Regions from separate parts of the Homo sapiens genome. Here region 1 is linked to region 2. The links are contacts of gene promoters, found by promoter capture Hi-C in blood cells and fetal thymus (Javierre and others, 2016). All regions are on one chromosome and are shown on one strand. Each heading gives the region's core, a stretch centred on a gene start or on the middle of the fragment in contact. The rest is flanking DNA. Distances are from core to core; before and after follow the strand shown. Region 1 has its middle 3.2 kb from the start of ZNF536-AS1. Region 2 holds the start of ZNF507 (zinc finger protein 507).

What was found. The method cuts DNA at HindIII sites, captures the fragments that hold promoters and counts their contacts. A CHiCAGO score of 5 or more calls a contact.
Region 1: a contact is called between a fragment that was not itself captured here and the fragment with the promoter of ZNF507 in region 2, in 1 of 17 cell types (endothelial precursors). The highest score is 6.1, in endothelial precursors.

Annotation. Positions count from the first base shown.
Region 1 is chr19:30,672,033-30,674,732 of GRCh38, reverse strand. It overlaps a transcript of ZNF536 not described here. Among named protein-coding and RNA genes, the nearest start is that of ZNF536-AS1, 3.2 kb to the right of the region's middle. The HindIII fragment of the contact is 7,406 bases long and covers 1-2,700 here.
Region 2 is chr19:32,344,332-32,347,031 of GRCh38, reverse strand. It overlaps ZNF507 (zinc finger protein 507), which reads right to left and starts at 1,422. Exons shown (of 7, transcript NM_001136156.2): 1 at 1,249-1,422. RefSeq lists silencers at 1,249-1,438, 1,469-1,598. The HindIII fragment of the contact is 10,893 bases long and covers 1-2,700 here.

The sequences.
Region 1 (2,700 bases), core at 104-2,603, 1.7 Mb after region 2:
AGGCAAGCTGGACAAGCTGAAAGTGCCTCCGAGTTCATATTTAGAGCTCAAGCTGGCCTCCACCCACGATGGGCAGCAATTTACCAGACAAAGGCAGCTTCCTCACCTCTCAGGTGGGGTCACTCTGAGGAGTGCTCTTCAGGTCCCAGAGCTCCCCAAAACTCCAACTGCCCACCTGGATTGAGGGCATACACTCCATTGGTTTCCTTCCCTTCCCAATACTCCATCAGTCACATGTCAAGTAAACCTGGATGCCCTGATTTCTTAACTCTGGCTCTGCTTCCTGAGAAATTAACCTGAGAGTAGGACCAGCCAAGGTCCACAAGAGAAGAGTCTTTCAGTCTTTTACCTGGCAGGAACAGCATCCTCTTTCACCTGACTCTATGCAACCACTCCCTCTCCATCCCCGGGCAGCCTGGGCACAGGGTGCATGGCACAGGATGCCCAGAACCAGCCCTAGCTCTGCTTACGGGACACAGAGTGATGCCTACGTGCCTTAAGGAGCACTGTGCCCTGAAAGCCTTCTCCACCCAGGCCCCTATCCCATCTCCTGCTGTCACCCCGCCAACCTGCTCCTCTCAGATAATATTTCCGAGTGCCTCAGCTCTGAAACACAATATCTGCCTCTTGGAGATGTGATGTGAGCTTTCACATCAGTTCCACCAAAAGTTAATTTCTGTGATGAATGCAATATACTCAAACCCATAAATCTGACCATCTGAAGGATTCAAATGGGGAATTATTGACAGCTGATGGAACCCAAGTGCGGAGATGAAGCTGCTTTTCTCATCTGTCCATCTAAATGTTGGAATGTGTATTGATTAAAATATGACTCGCTACAGAACCCAACATAAATCTAAACTCTATTAGATTAACACTAGCATTCAATTAACATAAAATGACAACGTAGGAGAAAAAGGCTGTGTGTCGGTCACCAGTAATATTTTACCTATAAACATGGGGAACCTGACATCGGGACGTGCGTCCGTGCACGGTTTGGGGTGGTGGGCACGCATGTGAGAGTTAGGTTGGGATGTGTGCCCCAGAGGCAGGAAGAGGTGACGAGATAGCAGGCTTAGGGGCACTGCAGGCTTCAGCCACAGGAGGAGAAAAGGGTGGCTGTGGCTGGTTGGCTTGACTCTTTTACTATTGCTTTTATTTAAGATGTGCCTGGGTGGCCAGGGCCATGGTGCTGTGCGGGCGATGTATGTGCCAGTCCCGTGGCAGGCACAGGGCGGGAGACCCGTCTACAAAAGGAAAATCTGAGTCAGCTTCTCAGACACAGAGAGAATGTTTTCAGTGGGTTCAGGACCCCAGCGTGGAGCAATGAAGATTTCCCCCAGGGAGAGGAGAGCAGAGATTTGAAGATGAACTGAAAAAATTCATATTGGAATCTAGGCAGAGGAAGACCAAGCAGAAAAGTGATGAAACAACAGTGATGTCATGTGTGCCCCTGAAGGGCCAGGCGCTGTGCTTGGCTTCTGCTCAGATCTGTCACTATTTCATGTCTCATAGGTCACACAGATCATACAGATCACCCTGGAAGGGTCCTAGGCGGGCTGGAACAGCTGACAGTGCAGATGAGGAAACGGAGGCTCGGAGAGGCTCGATTCTCATGTGACAGGGGCACTGGAGTCCTCACCCATTCCCCTGGGCCATCTCCTGCAGGCTGTTTCCACATATGCCAAAGCATATGGGGCTTTCTGGCCAAGGGGGTTCTCCAGTCATGGGCTCTTATTGGATTAAAGGGCCAAAGGGTGAACACCCCAGGAATACACTCAACCAAGACAGGATAGGGGCTGGCTTATAAACACCGCAGCTTTCTTGAGGTTGTCCACATAGTTCCTCGGAGGGTCCCAGCAGGAATAAGACTCCATTTCCCACAGGGATCACCTGCTTCAAAACACGCCTACATCTGCTCCCCCCACTCCCTCCTTGTACTTCCTGGGATCTTCTCTCCCTCCTCCCAAAAAACTGCCTGTGCCTAAATCCTTATCTTAGGGTATGATTCTGGAAGATTCCAAGCAAAGGACTAAAGTCACAGAACTCATAAGTGGTAGCAGAGAATTTGATGTGTTTGTTTTTTAAACCAGGCTTCTCATCATTCTCCCCCATGCTCTTACTAACAGATTCTTGAGCTAGGATTGGAGAGGAATGGGATTAAAACATCACTACAAAGAAGATGGAGGTTTGCAGACCCCATCTTTCAGATTTGACCTTGTTTGCTGTATGGACCCTGAAATATGCTTTGCTGTGGAAATAATGCCCCTTTTGTAATTGGGTGCCCAGGCTAGCTCTCAAAGCCCTCTTAGCATCTGGTTTACATGTTCACCAATTCGCTATTTCAAACGCATGCATTCTAATGTAAAATATTGCATGTAAGGGTACCAACTTGGGAATGCCAGAAACACACCTGAGCAACGGCAGCCCTGGGGTGGTCACTTAAGTCTCTATAACATCAGCACAATTATGGCCCCTCTGCACACACAGACTCCTCCAGGGGATGGGGCACCCCAACTGGCAGATCATTTGTAAGAAGTTCTGAATTGCAGAATAAAAGGGGAAGCTATTTTCTGTCTGTCTGGGTTCAGTTTCTCTGGCCAAGTAATCTATCTTGTTTTGAATAAAATATTATAGCAAGGAAAAAGAAACGTTGAGATGGGAATCGGGTGACCCAAGTGAAGGCCTGGACGGCCCCAG
Region 2 (2,700 bases), core at 173-2,672:
GCTCTGGAAACTTCTCCCAATAATTGTGTATTTTGTTTTACCTCAGAATTTAGGTACTGGACTCAACACTATTGGTTTTACTGACAACATTTTCTAATGAGAATGGAACAATAAATTGCACATTGCTATTTTAATCTAAACTAAAAATACAATCTAACGAGTGATTCTGCAACCAAGCACAATAGGCAGAAAAACAGCATAAAAAGATATGACACAGTGGTGTGACCTATATATCTTCTAACGCAGTTTCCTACTCTGGTCCTACATTTCTTTGCCACTGTTTCTTATACTGGCTGGAATAAATCTAAAAGATAAAAAAATGCTTATTCGTTTCACCTAGAATGCAACTACCTTATCGATTACGGTTAAGTAAAATAGCTCACTGCCAGGGCAGAAAAAACATCTTTAGGGCTCCCCTGAAGTTAATTTTCAACGAGTTAGTGAGGTAAAGGAATGAAGGGCCAGGCTTTCTTTTAATCAATAATGCAACCCATACTCTGAGTGAGAGGGGAGTACTGGAGAAAGTGCAAACTCAAAGAGGTGATAAATCCAGTAATTGCCTGAGAAGAGCGATGCAGACTGATAGCAAATTACAGCCCACTGCAGAAACTTAAAAATACCGCCTTGGGGTTGGGAAAGTGGCCGCCACCTTATTAATCATCCCGGCCTTCTACACAAACCATTCATTCCGATGCCCCCAGGTCTTAAGAGGTGGGAACTTTCCCTGATGGTCTCCGTGATCTCTGGAGACATCATTCTATCTCCAGAGGATGGTAATAAATGCAGAAGACCAGGGCTGCGTTTCTGTAGTAGCTTTTTCTACACCACGCACTGGCTAAAGGACTGAGGTGATGGGTCGGGAATGAGGGAGCTTAGAAAATTAATCAAAAGATGCTGTGAGAACATCGTGGCTGGGTCCATCCCGGCTGGCCTAAGCGATCTCACATTTGCAGAAAGAAGCAACGCCTGGAGAAGGAAGCAACGCCTGCGGGCGGGCCGGGCTGGTGACAGTATGCAGGGAGCAGCAAGTTCCCCCCACCCCCAGCTGCAGGGCAAGCCCAGAGTCTCCGCAGGCCTTGCTGCACAGAAGACAGAACCGGGACACGGAACTTGGGGCTTGTGGCTAGCACCGGGCGGGGGTCGGCCGGCTGAGGAGGAAGCGAGCGCCGGCAGAGGCCTGAGGGGAGGATGCACATGGCCGGCGGCGGCGCTAACAGCGGGCGGAGGGGCGGCCCCGGGGCGCGGTACCTGCGGTCAGGCGGCGGCTGCTGCTTCCGCGAGCCTCGTTTGGCCAGCCAGGACCCGGCCGTGCCCTCGCCCTCGTCCTTGCCCACCTCTCTCCCGGCTCTTTTCCCTCTTTTCCCCCGGTTTCCCCCTCCTCATCCGGAGCTCCAAAATGGCGGCGCTGGGGACGGATCACGTGAGCCGCGGGTGGGTCAGGTGACCCGAATGGCGGGCAGCGGGGGCGGGGCGAGGCTCAGGCCCCGCCTACCGGCGTCCCGGGCCGCCGAGGCTGGACCCGCGAGAGGGAGGCTCCCCAGCCGGTTTAGCCCCTTGCAAACCCTGGCTCCCGGGCGGGGTTCGGGCCCAGTTGTCTGGCTCTCATGGCCCCTTCCAGACGTCTAGATTTAGAAGTCACCGTGTATTCACTTTGGCATCTCCCCACGTCGCCTAAATCCGCTGTGGGCTAGCCTTATCACCCCACTCACCCCGCAATTGGCTTTCAACAATGGGCATTGGGGTTTTTTTTTTTTTTTTCTTTAGCCTTGTGCTTCTGGATTTGTATTAGTTCCTTTGGTAGGACTGTACATTTCAAGGTGTTCTTGGCTAAAATATAGAGGTCCTAGCCAGATTCGCAGCTTGGCGTTAAGGGGTGCCTGTTAAGGGCCAGAGCTGGCCCTGGGGAATCTCTTTGCTTGAGAGATTCAGGATTTTCAGGGTTTGTAGGACCAGACCCAGTAACACAAGCTCAGCCCTCCGAGGGCACGATGGTGTTTGTCATTCGGATCTGTTCTATGAAAGATACTAGGGTGGTTCTCCTGCTAACAGTGAAAAACGGACTAAGTGAAGCATTCCAGCCAATTTCACCAAAAATGCTGGATAGTTTTGCCGTATTAGGAACTACGCAGCATGGTGCTTGGGTCTGGACTCCGGGTGAGCGGTGGGCATGAGCAAGGGTGTAAAACTGAAGATTCTGGCCATTGTAGTGGAATGGACTCATTTGGTGAGATACCTCTTGGGGATCTGTTCCAGATCTTTTTAGAGGCCTTTACAGCTGGCTGGGCTGTCCACGGTCCTGGGAGGAAGATCCAACAAAATTTAGAATCAGACAGGCTGATAATTCCTGTTACTGTATTTCAGAATTCAAATTCATCTGAATTTGGGGGTTAGGAAACCAGCAAAGTTAGAATTTTTATTTTTATTTTTATTTTATTTTTTTGAGTCAGAGTCTCACTCTCTCCCCAGGCTGGAGTGCAGGGGCGCAATCTCGGCTCACTGCAACCTCCACCTCCCAGGTTCAAGTGATTCTCCTGCCTCAGCCTCCCGAGTAGCTGGCACTACAGGGCGTGCCACCATGCCCAGCTAATTTTTTTGTATTTTTAGTAGAGACGGGGTTTCACCATGTTGGCCAGGATGGTCTCGATCTCTTGACATCATGATCCGCCCGCCTCAGCCTCCCAAAGTGCTGGGGTTACCGGC